Regions from separate parts of the Homo sapiens genome. Here region 1 is linked to region 2. Evidence: promoter capture Hi-C in 16 types of primary human blood cells and fetal thymus (Javierre and others, 2016). All regions are on one chromosome and are shown on one strand. The core of a region is centred on a gene start or on the middle of the fragment in contact, and the rest is flanking DNA. Distances in the headings are between cores, read along the strand shown.

Region 1 (5,609 bases), core at 1,082-3,581, 550 kb after region 2:
AATATGGACTGAAGCCCCCCTTGGATTTACTGCTACTATTTATTGAATGCTTACTATGTGTTGGTTGTCACATTAGGTGCTTTATAAACACTATCTCTAATGACTTTGAAAATAATTCTTTAATGATAACTGAAGAGCTGGGAGTCAGATAACTTCCTGAGGTCATACAGTTACTGAGTATAACAGCCATGGCCCAAACTCTGACTGTTGAGCTCTAAAGCTTGTGCTAACTTCTGTGCTCTGCCTCTTCTCACCATATCACTACAGGGGTAAGAATCTTACAATTTTGCATATTTAATTTTAAGCATAAATATTGACCCCTAATACTTGTTTCAGTATCAAACCTGGAGCTGATATTTAATGGAGATTTACTGATTGCTAGACACCGTGCTAGTGCCTTGCCCTAGCTGTCATATTTAATCATCCCAACAACCCCATGAGGGGGATCAAAAAGCACTATTAGTTGCAGGTTATGACAAAACACAATAACATTTAACTAAAGCACTATTTACTATATTTAAAAATTCTCCAAGTATCTTGTGTCATGTTGTATCTATAAAAGAGAGTCTCTTTCTCTCTCATAGTTTACAATTCAAGAGAGACTCTGTAAAAGTGAGAACATATTGACATACATAAAACTATGTAAACATGAAACAGAAACATAGATTAAACAGAGATGTAGATCATGTACCATTAAAAGCTTTCCTAAAACATTGTGAACGTTTCATAGAAAAAAAATGTATCAATGGTACCTTCTATCTTTTGGGAAATCATGAGCTTGCTTTATTATGATAGTGCAGAGAATAGTTGAATAATTTGGACTCTATGACTCTCAGCCCTAAATTCAGAAAGTGTAGTTATATACCCCAGTGTTTTTTATTTTTTTAAAAAAACCTCTAGGCAGGAGATATTTTGGTAGGACACAAGACCACAAATTTGTCATACTATTCATATTTTATTTTCTATTTTTACTATAGTGGATAATCCCCAAATAACTATTATGGAGTTAATCTATCACCATCTCCTTCCTATATCTTTTCTGAGGGAAGGTTGGAATTAATGGATGAAGATATGTAGACATCTATGGTGTTCTGGGAAGCTGAGCATGTCTGATATAAGGCATGTGAGGTTTAAATGCATGCATGTGTTAGATATGTTGTCTAGCCTTTCTAGCCCACTAACTATAAACTACATATCTATCTTATGTATCTATTGGTGTGGAAACTTTACTGTATGGGAATTTGGAGAATCTTAGAGTCAGGAGAGATCTTTAGAGATCATCACATCCAAATGCTTTTTCGAAGAAGATATTTGTTTCACACCATTGCTGATGTACAGTTGTCCATTCAGTCATAGAGAACTAGCTATCCCTCCTTGGGCTCTTTATGACTTACAGTATATTTGTTTCCGGGAGCTGCCATAACAAATTCCCACAAACTGGGTGACTTAGAACAACAGAAATTTATTATCTCACAGTTCTGGAGGCTAGAAGTTTGAAATCAAGGTGTTGGTAGGGCCACGTTACCTTGAAAGCCTCTAGGGGAGGATCTTTCCTTGCTTCTTCAAACTTCTGATAGCCCCAGGTTTTCCCTAGTTTATGGCAGCATAACTCCAATCTCTGCCTCCCTCTCTACAGAGCGTTCTTCCTGTGTGTCTACCTCTTCACATGGTCATCTTTTCCTCTCATAAGAACATCTGTCATATTGAATTAAGGGCCCACCCTAATGACCTCCTCTTAATTTGTTTACATCTGCAAAGATTTTATTTCCACATAAGGTCACATTACAGGAACCACAGGTTAGGGCTGCAACATATGCTTTTGGAGGTCACAATTCAACCCATAACGCTCAGTATAACCAGAAGAGCTAAGTGGAGACTGGCTTAACCTCCTAGCCTTACATCTTTCTCTCATGCTGGATGCTTCCTGCCCTGGAACATCAGACTCCAGGTTCTTCAGCTTTTGGGACTCAGACTGGCTACCTTGGCCTATTGTGGGACCTTGTGATCATTCGGATTCAGGGCAAGGGGAGGCTGAACAAAAAAAAAGATGGCCAAATAGGAACAGCTCCAGTCTACAGCTCCCAGCATGAGTGATGCAGAAGACAGGTGATTTCTGCATTTCCATCTGAGCTACCGGGTTCATCTCACTAGGGAGTGCCAGACAGTGGGCACAGGACAGTGGGTGCAGTGTACCCTGCGCAAGCCGAAACAGGGCGAGGCATTGCCTCACTCGGGAAGTGCAAGGGGTCAGGGAGTTCCCTTTCCTAGTCAAAGAAAGGGGTGACAGACGGCACCTGGAAAATCGGGTCACTCTCACCCTAATACTGCGCTTTTCCGACGGGCTTAAAAAACGGCGCACCAGGAGATTATATGCCGCACATGGCTCGGAGGGTCCTACGCCCACGGAGCCTCGCTGATTGCTAGCACAGCAGTCTGAGACCAAACTGCAAGGTGGCAGCGAGGCTGGGGGAGGGGTGCCTGCCATTGCCCAGGCTTGCTTAGGTAAACAAAACAGCCAGGAAGATCGAACTGGGTGGAGCCCACCACAGCTCAAGGAGGCCTGCCTGCCTCTGTAGGCTCCACTTCTGGGGCCAGGGCACAGACAAACAAAAAGACAGCAGTAACCTCTGCAGACTTAAATGTCCCTGTCTGACAGCTTTGAAGAGAGCAGTGGTTCTCCCAGCACGCAGCTGGAGATCTGAGAACCGGCAGACTGCCTCCTCAAGTGGGTCCCTGACCCCTGGCCCCCGAGCAGCCTAACTGGGAGGCACCCCCCAGTAGGGACAGACTGACACCTCACATGGCGGGGTACTCCTCTAAGACAAAACTTCCAGAGGAACGATCAGACAGCAGCATTCGCGGTTCACAAAAATCCGCTGTTCTGCAGCCACCGCTGCTGATACCCAGGCAAAAGGGTCTGGAGTGGACCTCTAGCAAACTCCAACAGACCTGCAGCTGAGGGTCCTGTCTGTTAGAAGGAAAAGTAACAAACAGAAAGGACATCCACACCAAAAACCCATCTGTACATCACCATCATCAAAGACCACAAAGTAGATAAAACCACAAAGATGGGGAAAAAGCAGAGCAGAAAAACTGGAAACTCTAAAAAGCAGAGCACCTCTCCTCCCCCAAAGGAACGCAGTTCCTCACCAGGAACAGAACAAACCTGGATGGAGAATGACTTTGATGAGTTGAGAGAAGAAGGCTTCAGACGATCAAACTACTCCGAGCTACGGGAGTACATTCAAACCAAAGGCAAAGAAGTTAAAAACTTTGAAAAAAATTTAGATGAATGTATAACTAGAATAACCAATATAGAGAAGTGCTTAAAGGAGCTGATGGAGCTGAAAGCCAAGGCTTGAGAACTACGTGAAGAATGCAGAAGCCTCAGTAGCCGATGCAATAAACTGGAAGAAAGAGTATTAGTGATGGAAGATGAAATGAGTGAAATGAAGCGAGAAGGGAAGTTTAGAGAAAAAAGAATAAAAAGAAATGAAAAAAGCCTCCAAGAAATATGGGACTATGTGAAAAGACCAAATCTACATCTGATTGGTGTACCTGAAAGTGACGGGGAGAATGGAACCAAGTTGGAAAACACTCTGCAGGATATTATCCAGGAGAACTTCCCCAATCTAGCAAGGCAGGCCAACATTCAGATTCAGGAAATACAGAGAACGCCACAAAGATACTCCTCAAGAAGAGCAACTCCAAGACACATAATTGTCAGATTCACCAAAGTTGAAATGAAGGAAAAAATGTTTTCCTTCATTTCAAGCCAGAGAGAAAGGTGGGATTTCTCCTTCAAGCCAGAGAGAAAGGTCGGGTTACCCTCAAAGGGAAGCCCATCAGACTAACAGCAGATCTCTCAGCAGAAACTCTACAAGCCAGAAGAGAGTGGGGGCCAATATTCAACTTTCTTAAAGAAAAGAATTTTCAACCCAGAATTTCATATCCAGCCAAACTAAGCTTCATAAGTGAAGGAGAAATAAAATACTTTACAGACAAGCAAATGCTGAGAGATTTTGTCACCACCAGCCCTGCCCTAAAAGAGCTCCTGAAGGAAGCACTAAACATGAAAGGAACAACCGGTACCAGCCGCTGCAAAATCATGCCAAAATGTAAAGAACATCGAGACTAGCAAGAAACTGCATCAACTAATGAGCAAAATAACCAGCTAACATCATAATGACAGGATCAAATTCACACATAACAATATTAACTTTAAATGTAAATGGACTAAATGCTCCAATTAAAAGACACAGACTGGCAAATTGGATAAACAGTCAAGACCCATCAGTGTGCTTTATTCAGGAAACCCATCTCACGTGCAGAGGCACACATAGGCTCAAAATAAAAGGATGGAGGAAGATCTACCAAGCAAATGGAAAACAAAAAAAGGCAGGGGTTGCAATCCTAGTCTCTGATAAAACAGACTTTAAACCAACAAAGATCAAAAGAGACAAAGAAGGCCATTACATAATGGTAAAGGGATCAATTCAACAAGAAGAGCTAACTATCCTAAATATATATGCACCCAATACATGAGCACCCAGATTCATAAAGCAAGTCCTTAGAGACCTACAAAGTGACTTAGACTCCCACACATTAATAATGGGAGACTTTAACACCCCACTGTAAACATTAGACAGATCAACGAGACAGAAAGTCAACAAGGATACCCAGGAATTGAACTCAGCTCTGCACCAAGCAGACCTAATAGACATCTACAGAACTCTCCACCCCAAATCAACAGAATATACATTTTTTTTCAGCACCACACTACACCTATTCCAAAATTGACCACATAGTTGGAAGTAAAGCTCTCCTCAGCAAATGTAAAAGAAAGAAATTATAACAAACTGTCCGTCAGACCACAGTGCAATGAAACTAGAACTCAGGATTAAGAAACTCACCCAAAACTGCTCCACTACATGGAAACTGAACAACCTGCTCCTGAATGACTACTGGGTACATAACGAAATGAAGGCAGAAATAAAGAGGTTCTTTGAAACCAACGAGAACAAAGACACAACATACCAGAATCTCTGGGACACATTCAAAGCAGTGTGTAGAGGGAAATTTATAGCACTAAATGCCCACAAGAGAAAGCAGGAAAGATCCAAAATTGACACCCTAACATCACAACTAAAAGAACTAGAAAAGCAAGAGCAAACACATTCAAAAGCTAGCAGAAGGCAAAAAATAACTAAAATCAGAGCAGAACTGAAGGAAATAGAGACACAAAAAACCCTTCAAAAAATTAATGAATCCAGGAGCTGGTTTTTTGAAAGGATCAACAAAATTGATAGACTGCTAGCAAGACTAATAAAGAAAAAAAGAGAGAAGAATCAAATAGACGCAATAAAAAATGATAAAGGGGATATCACCACCGATCCCACAGAAATACAAACTACCATCAGAGAATACTACAAACACCTCTATGCAAATAAACTAGAAAATCTAGAAGAAATGGATAAATTCCTCGACACATACACCCTCCCAAGACTAAACCAGGATGAAGTTGAATCTCTGAATAGACCAATAACAGGATCTGAAATTGTGGCAATAATCAATAGCTTACCAACAAAAAAGAGTCCAGGACCAGATGG
Region 2 (5,745 bases), core at 1,810-4,309:
TTGACTACTCCTCTCCGAGCTTCACTATCAGTTCGTTTACCCATTTGTATAATTTGTGTCCTTGTTCGCTTTCCCCACAAATAATCAACAGAAGACAAGGCCTATTTCTTGTTCATCTTTCTGATGGCTAAGTGCCTAATGCAGTAGCTTGCAGATAGGAGGCACTAAAGTTTGTTAAACAAGAAGTTAAAAAAATTGTTAGACTTTTTGGATGCAGTAGCACACTGTGTCAATAATTTTGGAATCCAATTCAGCACTATCAGACACTCCTGCTCAAATTTATTAAAAGGTAATTTTTCATATTATTATTATTTAAAGATGGGTCTTGCTCTGTCACCCAGCCTCCATGGAATGTAGTGGCTCAATCATAGCTCACTGCAGCCTCAAACTCCTGGGCTCAAGCAATCCTCCTGCCTCAGCCTCCTGAGTAGCTGGGAGTATAGGCTGGTGCCTGGTTATTCACCTCATTTTTAAAGAAGCAACAAACAATATTGGTTAATTTCCTATATCAGATACTGGTCAAATGAGTTATAATGAGATATAATTTCTATAAACAGGTAAAACTTCTTCATGTTTCATAAAAATCTTTTGCTAGGTCAGACAGCAATATTCCAGAAATGAATCCATGTGTACAAACTAACCTATCTAATTTGTAACCATAAAGGCTTTTGGTTCCAGAGTTCAAAGATCTGTGTATGTAAAACAAGATAAACAGCAATCAATAAAGACGTGCCTATTGAAATTATTCTATTAAATAGCACAAAATAAGAGAAAGGAGCTTGGTTAAGTTAGAAAACTAAAAATCCTGTGGTCTACTACTGAAGAAACTCTTGAAGATCTGTTTAAAAATGCATGATATGCCTATAAACATCTCTGAAATCACCTTCTGGTTTAAGATAGTGCGTATCAGACAATCTGTATGCAAAATACTCAATCTGCTTTTTGTAACACACTATTAATCCAGAAGTCAACAGGCAAACTTCTTGTTAAATTAGATGTCTCCAAGATGCTAGGAGGGTCTTTTACAACTTATTCTATTACTTTTTCCTCAATTTTCAATTCTATTTCAGATAGGCTATCTTCATCTTACCTAGTTATGACTGATTTCAAAGGACTAACTAGATCAACTAAAAATAATGTTTAAAATGTGATTAATATATGTATTAGTTCTAATGCATTTCAGACTTCTCAATCATTACATATTTGTCCTACTAATGCATTTTCAGTTTCCCATATAGTATACCTTCTTCAAATTACATATTTGTAAATTTTGGAATATATAGATAAGTCTTTTCTATGTTTAACATATTTTTGATGGTGAGGAGGTAGAGAATGCATGCATTTCCCAAAGCTGCTGAACCACTTCTGACTAATATAAACAAATACAACTTCGAAGTGAGGTAGGAGGCTACTTAGGAGGGTGGAACCCTCTCAGCTCCCCATGCCTCCCCGATCCCTACCCACTGTAGTTGAAGAAACAACTGGCCTTATTTTGTACCTACAAGCTCTGATCTTATATAATGAGAAGGGGCTTACCTGAAGCATTCTGACTTTTGTCTTTCCTGTGATTAGCCCTACTCTGAAATCTATAACAATTTGTATGTTGTTTCAAAACTGCAAAATAATCCTATCTATAACTATCTAACCTTTTATAAATATTAAACTCAAAACTGGCCTAGAAGTAGAAAAAATAATGAATTAAAGATTATTTTAAGTTCCAATTCAGAAAGCACATAAAGGTCAACTTATGACCACAAACTAAATGTTAAAAGAACTTAAATTATGTCTTTCTTAGACCTTACATTTTAAAATGTTAGAAGATCCTTAAGAAAGTGTTACTCATCAGTCTTTTAAATTCCTATATGGTCCAATAAACCACCACTTAGAAAACATGCAGGCACATTCAGAAGCACAATAATATGGGCCATTAATTCTCAACAGTCTATTTCTGATGGAATGGAGTACAAAACTCAATTGGTATTTATGTATGGGGGAAAACATCCGTAAATTTAGTCGACTCTTTCCTAAACTACTACTCAGCCTCAAAATCTTTTCGGAGGCAAGCTGCTAGCGGGGGAAAAGAAAACTGAAATGAGAAAAACTCATCTCCTTGTGGCTGTCGAAGCAGAAAAGCTAGTTGACAGTAATGGTTTAGAAATGTTGGCAGCTAGGATCTACTACCGTAAACAGGTTGCCTCGGTTACTATGTCACATTTGAAAGAACTTAGTTAACCATGGCAGACTGGACTGCGGGAAACTACCAAATTATGTGTAACTTCCTATTTTTGTACCTTAAAAAGACTCCCTTTTAAGAAAAAGCCCTTAACCTCATTATTTCCTTCTATCTGCAGCATTCCTGCTCTCCGCATATCCCTCACCGTGACATCCTCGAGGCTTATGAAGATGCCGTCTCCCATTCTGTAACCCTGCTTTAGCCGCTACACGGGCCCCTCTTTCCTCCCCACCATTTTCCTAAACCTGCCTTGCCCCATAAAAACCATCCCGGTGAAGGGCCTCCCCTACTTCCCAGCAAGGCGCACTTTCTCTCTTCTGCAGCAGAAAGATCTGGGCCTTCTGCACTTACTGCTTTTAGCCTCCTCAGGGGCAGAGGCTAGGGACGGGGACAGGGCCGGAGCCTGGGCCAGGGCAGGGGCTGGGGCTGGAGCCGAGGCCGGAGTCGGAGCCGAGTCCAGAGCCGAATCCGGGGCCGGAGCTGGGACCCCAGCCGAGTCCCGGGCCGGGGTCGGGACCTGGACCTGGGCCACCTCCACCTCCTCCTTCTCCAGGGGCAGCAGCTCCTCCTCCGCCATATTCTCCATAGTTACCGCCTCCGTGCCAAGCCCGCCCGGGGACCCGGAGCGGGGCTCACGGCGGGGTCAGAGAACTGACGTGAATGCCCACAGGGCTGGATCCAAGGAGTGGGGAAGCAAGTGGGGAGGGCGGGATGCGTGCAACAGACAAAAGATGAAGAACCAGTGACCAAATCCTGTTAGTAGAAAACAGAAAGCCAGAGGCAGCGATTCCAGATGCCCGTCCGCTTCCCTTTCCCCGAGGCGTTACGACGCCACCACAAACTGCGCAGAAGCGTACTGGGGACGGCGTCCAATTGGGTAAGAGGGTTCGGTTTCTACGGTGCGTCTCCGGCCCACCGGCCAACCACCAAACCGAACAAAGACTACAGCACCCAGGATACACTGCGCAGTCTGGGGGCGGGGCCGGAGTTCAAGCCTCGGAGGAAGTAAATGCAAATCTAAGCGAGCGCTGTGGGGCGGTGAGTAGGTAGTGCGGATGCGGGCGCAGAACTACGTTTCCCAGCAGGCATACAGTTGGTGGGGCGGGGTGTGTGTGTGTGTTGGGAGGCGGGGGTCCCTCTCCTTTGGCTTGGGGCTCCGGAGTTGCCACTGCCGCCGGCGCTGGTAAGGTAGGAACTGCGGGGTGCGTTGACGTTTTGCTGGGCAGGTTCCCCCTCGTCCCCCGCCCCAAGTATACTGGCGGGCGGGCGGCCGGCCGGACTGGGGACTCAGGAGTCACACGGACCTGGGCGGGGCGACTCTGTGGGCGGGTCCGGGGACGAGCCAGCTCCGTGGAGGGTGTGGTTCTGGCCCGGCTTGCCTCCGGGGCTGCCCCTTGCCCGGTGTTGGGGTCTGGTCGGTTCGTGCGGAGCCCGCGGGCCCGCGGCGGTTTACTAGCAGCTGACGAGCTTGCCTGTCCATCCAGCTGACTTGGAATTAGGGTCTGTTCTTCATTTCGCACCCTCACCTACACCGTGACCCGAACACTCTTTTCCTTTGTTTTTATTTTTGCTTTAGTCTTCATGTTGCCAGTATCAGCAGTTCTGCGGTGTGGCCAGTGGATAGAAATTAGTTGTTTTGCTCTATTTTGCTTTGTTTTCAGGCTTTTAATAACCAGAGCTCTGAGTGGGTAGAGCTTCGGGGCATTTAATTTTGATGCGTTTCAGATCCCCAAAACATATGCTAGCGAGTCCCCTGTCCCCCGTACTTCTCTCCCCTTCACTCTTAGTGCCTACTTGACATTCGAGCCTTTCTTGTTTCTTTCTTCTGTCCCCCCGCGATAAATCCACTGGGACAGAAAGGAGAAAAACGTGAACTTTCTGGCTGCCCTGCTTGGGCTTGGTCCGAACCTTCTAGGCATCAGGGCAGGAGAGGGAAGCCCAATTTAGTCTCAAGAACAAGACGCGCGCTTCCAGTTAGCTTTTCTTAGTTAATTAAGTTGATAAACGCCAATCTTCTTGGTCTATTTGTTTCCTACTTGTTTCAGAACCCCGGGGAAGAGATAGCATGATTATTTGGCACTTTGAAGCACTAACTGGAAATTAACTCCTCCCCCTATAGTTAAGAAGTATATATCTGGAGGGGTGTGTGTGTGTGTTTAACCTCTCCCCAGTTTAATGGGAACAGATTATCCCTGTGGAGCTTCTGTGAGTTATAGTCCTAAATCCCTTTTACTGATCGTCCCGTACAGCTTTTATCTAGTATTCCTGAATGTGTAGTTGACTCATGGCTCAACAGTCAATTAAAAATGGGATAACACTGACTATAACTTACAGAAATGCTAACTATATCTGTGCATCATCCAATAATTCTTGTTCTCATTTCTTTTTTTTTTTTTTACTGTCGTTCATGATGATTTTTTATTTCTAAATGACTAGATGGTTAACTGAAAGCTAGATTCAGTATGTTAATGTCATTTAACACCAGCTGGAAACCAGATTAAAAGGGTCAGATTTTAGTGTCTGGATTCTGTGGGAATTTTTGTAAGAATTTCTAAGCATGGTCTGTGCTTGTAAGACATCCTGAAGAAGGAATCGTCAATGTTTGAAGAATTAAATAATGTTATTCATCTATTGCTACTGCATAAGTTATACCAAAACATAGTAGCTTAAAACAACAGTAAACATTTATTACTCCACAGTTTCTGTGGGTCAGGAACTCAGAAATGACTTTCTGGGTTGATCTGGCTTTGGGTCTCCTGAGGTTGCAGTGAAGATATGTGCCAGGGCTGCTGTCATGTCACTTGATTAGGGGTGCAGGATCATCAGCTTCAAAGGTAACACACTCACATGCCTGGCTGTTAGTTGGTTCTGGTTGTTGGCAAGATGCCAGTAGTTCTTCCCTTGCGAGCCTTTCCATGGGCTGTTTGAGTGTCCTCATGACACTCTGACTTTCCCTAGAGTGAGCAGTCCAAGACAGAACAAGGCAGACGTCATGATATCTTATATGATTTAGCCACATACCACTATGTAGCAGTAATATCTTATTGATTACACAGGTCAGCCTTATTCATTGTGGTAGCAGATTACATTAAGTGCATGATTACCAAGCATCAGGAATCATCAGGAGCCATCTTGAAGACTGGCCAGCACATGAAGTCTCCCCTCATTTATGTTTTGATTTGCATAAAATCAATAGGAATTTCACACTAGTATGAATATACAACATTTGTCCGAATAAACATAAACATAAGTGTTTTTCTGGGATAGTCCACAATACTGTCATCCACTAACAGTATTGACTTGGTCCACAGCAGGGCTGGAAAAGTGAGACGGGGATGGGAGGTGGACAGAGGAACTACAGTGAGTGAATTGGAAGTGGTTCAGAATGAAAGAGTTAATATTCCAAGGAAGAAGAATTCACTCATTTATTCACTCAGTAGGCATTTATGAGCACCTAAGTTTTTAATACGGCACACTCAAGGAGCTCAGTGTCTAGTAGAAAGACAACCATA

What was found. The method cuts DNA at HindIII sites, captures the fragments that hold promoters and counts their contacts. A CHiCAGO score of 5 or more calls a contact.
Region 1: a fragment that was not itself captured here is called in contact with the fragment with the promoter of TRMT1L in region 2 in 7 of 17 cell types (total B cells, non-activated CD4 T cells, naive B cells and 4 more); the score reaches 8.4 in total B cells.

What each region holds. Positions count from the first base shown.
Region 1 is chr1:185,705,354-185,710,962 of GRCh38, forward strand. No RefSeq gene overlaps it. Among named protein-coding and RNA genes, the nearest start is that of HMCN1, 26 kb to the right of the region's middle. The HindIII fragment of the contact is 3,266 bases long and covers 699-3,964 here.
Region 2 is chr1:185,153,894-185,159,638 of GRCh38, forward strand. TRMT1L (tRNA methyltransferase 1L) reads right to left here and starts at 3,060. Exons shown (of 15, transcript NM_030934.5): 1 at 2,585-3,060. The coding sequence starts at 2,819. It overlaps SWT1 (SWT1 RNA endoribonuclease homolog), which reads left to right and starts at 3,274. Exons shown (of 19, transcript NM_017673.7): 1 at 3,274-3,421. RefSeq lists enhancers at 2,148-3,053, 2,897-3,006 and silencers at 2,557-2,806, 3,547-3,666. The HindIII fragment of the contact is 11,948 bases long and covers 1-5,745 here.